2 separate regions of the Homo sapiens genome follow, and region 1 is linked to region 2. Evidence: promoter capture Hi-C in 16 types of primary human blood cells and fetal thymus (Javierre and others, 2016). All regions are on one chromosome and are shown on one strand. Each heading gives the region's core, a stretch centred on a gene start or on the middle of the fragment in contact. The rest is flanking DNA. Distances are from core to core; before and after follow the strand shown. Region 1 holds the start of TM9SF2 (transmembrane 9 superfamily member 2). Region 2 holds the start of MBNL2 (muscleblind like splicing regulator 2).

Region 1 (5,270 bases), core at 2,115-4,614, 2.3 Mb after region 2:
GTGTTAGCCAGGATGGTCTCGATCTTCTGACCTCGTGATCCGCCCATCTCGGCCTCCCAAAGTGCTGGGATTACAGGCGTGAGCCACCGCGCCGGCCGAAGGTCAAGTTTCAGTGGTGCTAGGAAAAGAAGATAGTGAGCAAAAATGTTAATTTTTGTTTCCTCCTCTTAATATTTGGAGAAAACGTCTGCTTCCTTTTGTTATATTGGAAATCTCCATGACTTCCAAATACAGAATATTTTACAATTTTTCCCTATCCCAAAGTTCAGCGAATATGTTGATTTATTTGAGGGAGAGGACATGAAAGGGAAGCCACCTAGGCACAATTTTCTGCTCAGGCCCTACCAGATTAGTTTTTGTTATCAAAAAAAAAAAAAAAAGTGCCATTCCTTGGGCCAAGCTATGTGCTCAGCACTTTCCCTCCATTTTTGATTTAATCTTCACAACAACCTTAAGATGAACGTTCTTTTCTACTTCCCAGTTCTCTTGATTAACTTGGCTACCCCACTATATGGATCAATTTGCAGGGTCCTAGGTCCCTTTGAAAATCTGATGAAAGTTATAAACCTTACCTGGGAAAAAAGTACAAACACCCGCAAGAACTTGAAATAGGAGTTCACTGGCCCTCAACTTTCTGAGCTTACTATTTCACAAACCTGCCTATTCTTGAATTCTGAGCTGGAGGTCATGATTCTCTCTTATGTACTTTAAGATGATGCACTCTTCCGAAGTTTTTGATTGAACTCTAGTGGCTAACTGAATTGACTTTTTCAGATCACTAAAAAGCTTCTCCTTGAAAAATACTCAGAAGATGCAACACACACACACACACACGTGTGTGCACTTACACACGCGGACACCGTCTCACATCATCAGTGGGAAAAGTGATAGAATCTTGCTAAAGGCTGATCATACCATATTAATCCGATTCGCCAGAACTACTTTCTTCACTGAGCTCTCAGGTATGCTCGGGTCTTCCTTTAAAGAAAATAAATGTCAACGCTACACTCTATCCTACTCCCATTTTCCTCCTCACCCCATTTCCACTCTCCCTTAAAGAGATGTGTGCACACAATCACTGCCCAATGCAAGAATGCACCACTGCATCCAATGCTTGGAAATTGTCCGTGAAGATGCCTTTGAGTAGCTGTCTATTTGAGGATTTGTGGCTAATTCCTCCCCATTTGTTTCCTTAGCCTGCTCCCAACCAGGTGTCTCCAGAACTTTTTCTCTCCGCCACCAACTCCGCCTCCAGACAGACCGCAGGTGCTTTCTGTCATAGGGACTGGCGTGCCGCGGACAGTGTGACAAAGAAACTGTATGATGGATATGAGAACTTCGTAAGACCCAGCAGCAAACGGGGAGCGGCTGGCGAGCGCTCCACAGCCCCCAAGCGTGGGAGCTCTAGATCGGAATTTGTAATTTGGAATTGGAACGTGAGCGCCGGAACAGCTCTCCCAGCAACCACCTCTCCCAGCAACCACCTCAGCTGGCGCGCGGAAAACCCGGAAAGTGGATTTCGCCCCCGCTCCCTCCCGGAAACTCCTCCTGGTGCCTGCGACCGTTCTCACTGAGCATGTGCAGACGGCGGTGCGCATGCTCTGTTGCGGTCCGCTTCGGTTTCTGTTGCGGGACCCGGGGTGTCTCCTAGCGCAACCGGAACTAGCCTTCTGGGGGCCGGCTTCCTTTATCTCTGGCGGCCTTGTAGTCGTCTCCGAGACTCCCCACCCCTCCTTCCCTCTTGACCCCCTAGGTTTGATTGCCCTTTCCCCGAAACAACTATCATGAGCGCGAGGCTGCCGGTGTTGTCTCCACCTCGGTGGCCGCGGCTGTTGCTGCTGTCGCTGCTCCTGCTGGGGGCGGTTCCTGGCCCGCGCCGGAGCGGCGCTTTCTACCTGCCCGGCCTGGCGCCCGTCAACTTCTGCGACGAAGAAAAAAAGAGCGACGAGTGCAAGGTGGGTGAGGCCTGACGAGCCCTCTGATGCACTGTTGGAAGGGGAAGTCGTCCCTATCCGGGGGAGCTGATCCTCGGGTGGGAGCGAGGGAAGGGGGCGTAGCAGCGGGTGGGGTTGAGTTTCCCCAGAAGCTTTTGGGGTCTGCTGGGCTGTGGGTGGGGGGCTCTGAAACAGCCCTTGCAAGGGTAGTTTCTGGAGGACGCAGTGGGCCTCAGACTCGCCTCCCGTCTTGCGGGCCAAGTGGCACGAGCAGCTGTATTCAGTTTTCCTGGAACAGGGACCGTGTGGAGCGCCCTTGGAGTTGGGCTTCACGCCTCAGAGCTTTGGAGTTGGATGTATGCAGGTCCACGCGTGAGTGTTCGCTCACAGCCCTGTAACATGTACGCTGAGGAAGCGGGTGACCGACTCCCTACATGTGAGCAACACTCAGCCTAGTTAACAGTTTCCATTAGCTTTTAACTTCATTGCTTCCTGTTTAATTGCATTTTCCTGGAACCTTCTAGTTGGTTAGGAGAGCTTGTTCTTTCTAGGACTTTGATATCTCGCTTCACAATTAGAAGTTGGTTCCTTATTTGTGGAGTATAACACCCAGAGCCACACAAAGTGCATTAATAAAGAGTTGCTGTAATGGTTGAGGCACTTGATTTCTGAGTTTTAAGTGTAAAAGATTTTAATACACAAAAAAAGATACGAGGTCTCACTATTTTCTCTGAGATGGTTTTAAACACTTAAAAGGGGCAAATGGTGGGAGAAACTGGTGTTTTCCTAGGGCAAGTCTTGAAAACTTTGATCTCTTACAACATTCACACTCAAGGTTTTCAGTTTAATTGCTAGTAAAAGAGGCGTAAATAAAGTAACCTGCTTTTAGGTTATATGGTGTAGGGCTTTACAGTATACATACACAATTATTTCGTTAAGTTTATTTAAAACTTAACATTTGGGGGATGAGGATCTCTTTGAAACCTTTAATGATTTCAACAATTCAAATAATCGTTCAACAAACGTTTACAATCTATAAATAGGCTTATTTATTAAGTTTGATTTTTTTAAGCTGGTGTTTATTACAGTTAGCTTTACTATAGCTGTGAATTTTGAGGTTATTTTAGGGCATTAGATAAGCTTTAAATTTTTCATAACATTTTGCAGTTTCTTTTTAGGTTGTCAGCTATCTTGAATGACATGTTTATACATCTGTGCAAAACCTTGTATCTGAAAAAATATCTAAGGATATTTAAGGTTTACTCAAGTCTGCAGTTAGTGTTTCAGTACTTAAGTTCATACTCTGCAGTGCAAGAAGCTTTCACTCCTTTTTGAGGATTCTGACTGAAAGACTGTTGTTGTGCTTCCAAGTGGAAGATCTAGACTTGCAAGTACACTGGTTTTTCCATTAAATATTTTAGTAACCAACCTTTAAGGCCTAGTGTTTGGTCTTACTTTAACAGCAGTTGTATATTCTATTCCTAGTGCCTCAAAGATGAAAAATATATTTCCTGCCCTCTGGGAACCTCAAAGTAAGGGACATAAGCTTATGAACAGATTATTGAAATCTGATCTGTTACACAGGATGATGTCCAAAGTGTGCTAAAACAAAATGAGGAAACATCAGTGGACTAGAGTCTTTAGGGAAAGCTCTATAGAAGAAGTGACAGGGCCAGGTGTGGTGGCTCACGCCTGTAATCCCAACACATTGGGAGGCCGAGGCGGGTGGATCACCTGAAGTCAGGAGTTTAAGACCAGCCTGGCCAATATGGTGAAACCGCGTCTCTACTAAAAATACAAAAATTAGCTGGGCGTGGTGGCGGGCATCTGTAATCCCAGCTACTCGGGAGGCTGAGGCAGGAAGAATCGCTTGAACTCTGGAGGTGGAGGTTGCAGTGAGCTGAGATCGCGCCATTGCACTCCAGCCTGGGCAACAGAGCGAGACTTTGTCTCAAAAAAAAAAAAAAAAAAAAAAAGAAGAAGAAGTGACATTTGAGATGGACTTAGAAAATGAATAAGTGAAACTTATAGGTGGTCTTCCAGTTAGATGATTGTTTTCTCAACAGGTCCTTTGGTAAGTGGCTAGGTTGTATTCTAGTTATTTTTTAGTTAATCTTGGGAGTCATTTTGGATGTTTAATTTTCATAGGTATAGGGATAAAACAGGCAGAGCAGATCATTTTTCCGAAATGTTTGGATTTTTATCTTTATTGCCAGCTACACTCACATCTGGTTAATGGAAACAACTCTTAGAAGAGCAGGAGGGTGTACTTTCAGCTTTTTTCCTGCGATATGACTAACTGGTGTAGAGAATTTGAAATACACTTTAATATTTATTTTCTTTGCCTTTCAAAGAAGATGCTATAAATAACAGTAAACAGTTGAAATTTGTATTACTTCAATCAGGATGTTAATAATTTATTCTCATCTATTTCGTATTTGTTAAGGAGGACAGTCTTGTACACATTATTCAGAAAAGTGGAAGGAACTTCTTTTAAAAATTAGAAATGAGAGTTGTGAAATGGAAATAATTTTTTCCAAAAGATGCTGTTAAGTTAGTGAATCTGAAGTTGGAGAAATTGGGCAGGTCATTGATACTGTTACCAACAGTTTTTCCATCTGTAAAATAGGGATAATCATATTTGATTATGACATATTCCCCTTGAAAGGTATTTTGCATTTCTTAGAGGAAAAGTGCAATATTTGTCATTGTTGTGATAGTGTAGAGATGAAACAAATATATCTTCAACTTATATATAATTTAGGTAGTAGAGTGTTTTTATGTACTGTAAAGTTTGTCTCATGCATTTAGCTCAGGATGTAAATTGAGAGAGAATCAGAAGAATGCTGAGGATTTAGTAATTTTCTCTCTTTAAAAATTATCTTATGTTGAATTTACTGGCAGAGAAACAGGAGTCCAGTGAATATAAAATTCTATTTATATTGCTGTAACTTCTGATTAATTTTCTTAGCCTTCATAGATACTGTGAGTATGTTTTCATGGCCTCCTTTTTTTAACTTATTTTACATGTGCGTGCATTTGGATATTGAGGAGGTGCACATTCTTATTGCTTTTTATAGCCGATACTATTTCATTCTGTTCCTGTACAATCTGTGGTTTGCCTGACCATTCTTACTTGTAGGGCCTTTAGATTGGGCCCAATTTTTCTCTATTATGAATAGCTTTGCTACAGTGTATTTAGCAGTAATTATTTGCATATCCCCAAATATAAAATTCTAGGTAAAGACAAGAAGAAGTTTTTAGTTCTGTTTAGTATTGCCAGATTTCTTTCAACAATGATAGGTTTGATTTCCTTTAACTAAATAATACCTTGTG
Region 2 (5,194 bases), core at 1-2,500:
TTATGTTTTTAAGATGCAATGGCAAAATAAAAAGAAAGCATTCCATTGCATTCTGTTGCTTCATTACAGATGCGCTGAACAGTTGCTTATAAAAATCGTGCATTGGGTTCAACCTTTCAGATGAATAAAGGCTTTGTTCTGTCTTGGTCTCATCATGTAATCATCATACTTTTTTTTTCTCAAAATGTGGTATTTAGGGGAGGAAAATGTATGCTTGTTGTGTTTGCTCAATGCCATATGTTTTTGAGTTTTTGTTTTCAAGGCATACAGAAATGCTGTAGACTGGGAAATAAATAAATAAATAAATAAATAAATAACCCTTCCTAAACTTTCTCTTCTTCTGCTTTATCTCAGGAAACTCCAGCACCTCCTAGAACATCTTTTGTGGAATGGCACCTCATGGGGGCCCTTGGATCATGTACCCCTTGTATTCAACAGTAAACATCTTCCTATAATCATTGCTTCATTAACGATAATGTGAGCCAATGCACAGTATTTATCAAATGGCATCTAAGATGGTTAAAGCACACCTAATCCTCTCGTGGGTGCCTGCCAAGAGTAGAAAAGGGTAGTGTATAGATATCAATTTTATTGTCCAGCATTCCCTAATCGAAGTCCCAAGTGGTCTGAAAACTTAGACGAAAGATAAATGGGCCGCAGTAATTAACCACTGCAATAACAGATGTTATACAGGAAACCTGTGTGTGCCAGAGCTATAAGCATGTTTTGATTTTGAATACGCACTTGGGCTAGCACATTCTTCCTCAATAATGGAAATATGTAAATGTTTTGTAAGGTATTAACTGCCATGGCAGACGTTGAATTATTTTTCCTTTAAAAAACATATACATATGCTTTGTCAGATAGTCCAAGGACTTCAGTTTCATGTACAACCTGGATTTCTTTGGAATCTGCGGAGTTTCACATTTTCCCAAGTGTTCACGGTGAAGCTCCTGGCTTCGAGCTGGCTGTCTTCAAGGGTGTTTTCTTGAGCTACCCCTCTCTCTGCTCTGCCAATTATGTGCCACTTTGTCTTGGTGCTATGATTGCTTTCTTCTGAGAGGGAAATTCCTCTTTCATCAGTATGGATGCACTGTTTTTACACACTGCAAGTGCTGTGTTACTGTGTCAGTCATCCTATTAGGGCCAGTTTCAGACGAGTAGGGCTGACGAGCTGGCTGGGGATTGGCTGGCCCCGGCTGGGAGGGATTTGTCGGAAGGAAGGGCTGCAGCTTACAGCAACAGAGTTTAGACTGTCTTTGCTTCATCATCTGAAGGTAAAATTTTCCAGATACGGCAGACGGCTTTCAGAGTACAATAAACAGGGAATGAGAACTATTTACATGGAAGTTTCTTTCTCATGATGCGGTGGAGAAGCCTCGGCCACTTGGTTCTGCCAGATGTTCCTGGGGTTACTGTAAATGGGAAGGACAGGCAGAGCTAAACAAGGTAGGAGAATCGCCCCCCTTTTTTGAATGTTTAAAGAGTTTGCTGCAGTATGCTGCATTCCATGTGTGCTGCTTACGGGAGCCAGGGAAACTGGATTCCACTAATTCAATTGTAATACTTGCGGGGGACCCTGGAGTTTTACGTAACATTTTGATTTGAGAAAAAGAAATGGCAAAGCTTGAATCTATGCCGCCTGTTTGGGGTGAGGCAAGAAATCGAGTTTTTATGCAAAGAATCGATTCATTTATTATATTATTTTTTAAAAACCATTTGAATTCTTTGGAGCAATCTTATTTTCTTGCTGTGAAAAATTGTTATATTGCCATAGCTAGTTCCCAAATAGATAAAGTTTACATGGATCCTATTATTTGAAAACAGACTTGCAATTAAGGATTAAAAAAAAATTCATGGTAAATAATCATCGGTTGAATGTTTGGCCAAACGTATGTGTCTATTTATTAAAAATTAGGGACCTACCTAGCTCTACAATGCTACAGCTTTAATTGAGTTTCAAAAGCACATTTTAAACAACCTAGCAAGAGGTAGCTTTCTGGCAAGTTTTCGATACTGTAGTTCAATGTTTACATTTCTTTTCCTGGCATGTCTGAGCCTTTGTTTCCAGCTTAAAAGTGGAACCATTATATTCAAAAGTAAAGCTGGGTTAATAATGCTTACTGCAATTATCTGATCTTTATGCATTTTTAATGAGAACACACAGCCAGCAGAATAATTTAATGAGGGCAGGCTAGCTTTTAAAGCTGTGTTTTCACTATGCCGAACCATATCAACTTTCTCGCTGAGAAGCAGCAGTGAGAAATGATGGAGAAGATTTATTTTTAACACACTTGGCCCAGGAGAAGGAAAGGATATATTTGCTAAAGAATTCTTTCTGCCCTTTTCCGTTTTAAATTTCTGCCAGGCATGAGGAAACTGTGCTTTTTTGTTAGGCCTCGGAAGCATGTGTTTACAATAAATGTGTAACATTTTTAGAATAGTTAGCAAGCACTGAAGCGAAGAAAAAAATCTGACTTGCCTAACCACCACCACCTTGAATGTTCTACAAGAAACATTACTGTCCCTTTAAAAGACAAAGGTTAAGTGGAAAGCTATTTGTTAATTGGGTAATGTGTGTGTTTTGGGGACAATAAGGTTTTTAAAAAAGGCAGGGGGAACATTCTTATAATCTTTAAATAAGAGGAAGTTTCTTCAGCTATCCTACTTGTTTTGCAAGGAGCAGTAGAACTACTCATTTAAATAAGGGCAATGCCACGTAGATTCTTCTAGACCCACTGTTTTTACTTTCAAGGAGAAGTGCAGGACACTAGCCCAGAACTTCTGACGTCATCCCCCAACTATTTCTGCTGTGTGTTCCTTTATTCGAGCTTGTGGAGAGGAATATTTCTTTATGTCCTGGCCAGGAACATTCTAACTCCCCACTGGCAGGACTTAAGTTATGTCTTTATATTTTCGCCTGTCTTTTGTAAATTGTAAACCTGTCCCCTCATAAATAGGGCATCTTCTTGTACCTGCCACATGTCGGGCCGGTCAGCACAGGTTTTCTGCAGGGCTTCTGGCTGGGCTGGCAAAAAGCAGCAGGGAGCAGGGCAAAGCTTTTTTTCTGGCCTGACTCCCCCTTGGTGCAGCCCAGCGCTGCCACCTGGGTGGATGGTCCCCGGGGCCCTATTCCCAGTTGCTCCAGAGCCACTATTTAGGATCCAGGTTGTGCCACCAAGTTCAAGGCTGGTTGTGATGGTGAGAACAGCTGCTTTCATAGAAAAATCATCATGTCCTAGCACAGATGGCCCCAAGCAGGGGAAGTACAATACTGCAGGCTGCAAATCCATGTCACAGGTGGCAACCTTGGTCACAGAGATCGGGGGAAGGGTAATGTTTACAAAGGAACCTTTTAAAAAAGATTTTGACTGGAGCACATTGGAGTTCTCGGGAGTTCCCAAAGCTAATTTGTGTCTCCTCTCTGACTACTCACGTAGTTTTGAGCAAGTGCCTACCTTGATTTTTCTGTCTTTTAATAGAATTGAATCATACTTGCTACACTTTCCCTCATCATTTAGCATTTTGAGACCTTGACCTTTTACCAAAAAAAAAAAAAAAAAAAAAAAAGTTGTTTGTCTCTTGGCACATTGAGCTATTTAAAGTACAAAGGGATAAAACCTCGGTATTAAGAAACTGTTGGCAAACACCTTAGAGTATTAAGATACATAGTCATATACACAAAACCCTTCACTCTACTTTGTGCTCATGTAAATTTTTTAGGGATACTTTTTCTTAGTTCAACAAATGAAATTTCCAAGGAAATCAAAGCGTTGTTGTTTGCATTTTTTCCATCGATCTAATCTAATATACTAGAAGCTCTGCAAAGCACACTATTCTGGCCACAGGCCTTGTAGTGCCCAAAACATTTAATGCTGTTTTTCCTTTGACTTTTGTGTTAAATTTGTGAAAGTGGAGTAAATAAGAGAAAAAACAAGAGGGAAGGAGAAAAATATGCTTGTGAAATATACTGGTTAGGTAGCTTTACTGGTTAACAGCCTGCCTTCTCTCTGCTAGTTGTTTCAATTTGCTGTTGCTATGGTGAAAACAAATCAATATCACATGGCTACCAGCCAGTCCCGCGCTCAGGGAGTGCCATAGAAATTCAAGATCAGGTACTCAAGATTCCAAGCAAGAATTGGGAAAAGAGGATTTAGATGCTGAGCTTAAGAGAATTCCTTATAGTAGAATAAGTAGGTTCAATCTCTCATGCATTTTCTCTTCCTTTTTTCCTGTACTTTCCTACCGATAACAAGAAAAAGATGAAAAGGAAGGTATACTGATTTGTTTACATTTCCAAAATGACAAAACAGATTATCAACATAGAAATAGGTTGGCAACATTGCAAGGGGTGAAGGATTCTGATTCGGGAAAAGGTGGATAACTACAAGACATGTTGGTTGTTGAAAACATAGTTTTGGGGGCCTTTACCATCTTCAGGTACAGCTACATGTCAGAGCTGGCTGGGTTGTGCCAAGCAGAGAAACCTGGCAACTCTAGGGGGCAGGTGGGCAGTGGAGATAAAGGGGGTTATAAAAAGGTAGGGAGGTGTGGGCATAAAAATCAACAAGCAAGAAAGCCCAGAGAGAGCTGCAGGTCAAGAGTCAGGCCAGGCAAGCACAGATCCCTGGGGCATGGCAGAACAGGAGAGGACAGTTCGCCCTGTTCACGAAATCTGCTCAAGACCCAAGCTAAAGGCCTAGCAAAGAAAGGCAGGAAATAGCTGCAAAGAGAAGTAAAGGTGTCATGGGCCCAGGCATCCTTTCCGGAAGGGTCGACTCAACTGGATGAGCATGGATGTCCACTGCTGGGGAGAGCAAAGAGCTTGATATTTTAATGCTTTGGTTTCTCTCAGAAGAATGAGGCAGGAAGACTTAACCGGGCTTTGTAAATTAGTTAACATACTATTTTTTTTTCTCCAGTTTTATACTCTTCTCAGTTTTTTTTTTCTTTTAAAAAATGTGCACAAACTATTTGTTGCAGCCGTGATAATATTCGTAGTAAAGAGCCAAAGGTGCTGCGTGGCTGGGTCTGCATCAGGCCTGGGCCTCCGACTGCACGGCTCCAACTACACAGTTGTTTATGGAGACCAGTCCCGGCCTCCTCTGCTGAGAGTAAAAACAGGTGTGAAAGGTAAGGCCTAAGGGTTTCTTTTGTAAACCTGAGCTCTGAGGCTGATGGACGAGTTTTGGGC

The links. Contacts are between HindIII fragments. The CHiCAGO score rates a contact against its expected background, and 5 or more counts as called.
Region 1: a fragment that was not itself captured here is called in contact with the fragment with the promoter of MBNL2 in region 2 in 1 of 17 cell types (fetal thymus); the score reaches 5.0 in fetal thymus.

What each region holds. Positions count from the first base shown.
Region 1 is chr13:99,499,823-99,505,092 of GRCh38, forward strand. TM9SF2 (transmembrane 9 superfamily member 2) reads left to right here and starts at 1,650. Exons shown (of 17, transcript NM_004800.3): 1 at 1,650-1,955. The coding sequence starts at 1,785. It overlaps LINC00449 (long intergenic non-protein coding RNA 449), which reads right to left and starts at 1,241. Exons shown (of 2, transcript NR_133664.1): 1 at 573-1,241; 2 at 1-118. RefSeq lists enhancers at 1,356-1,535, 1,442-2,030. The HindIII fragment of the contact is 228 bases long and covers 3,251-3,478 here.
Region 2 is chr13:97,221,083-97,226,276 of GRCh38, forward strand. It overlaps MBNL2 (muscleblind like splicing regulator 2), which reads left to right and starts at 1,251. Exons shown (of 9, transcript NM_001382683.1): 1 at 1,251-1,449. RefSeq lists an enhancer at 1,273-1,332. The HindIII fragment of the contact is 4,024 bases long and covers 1-1,624 here.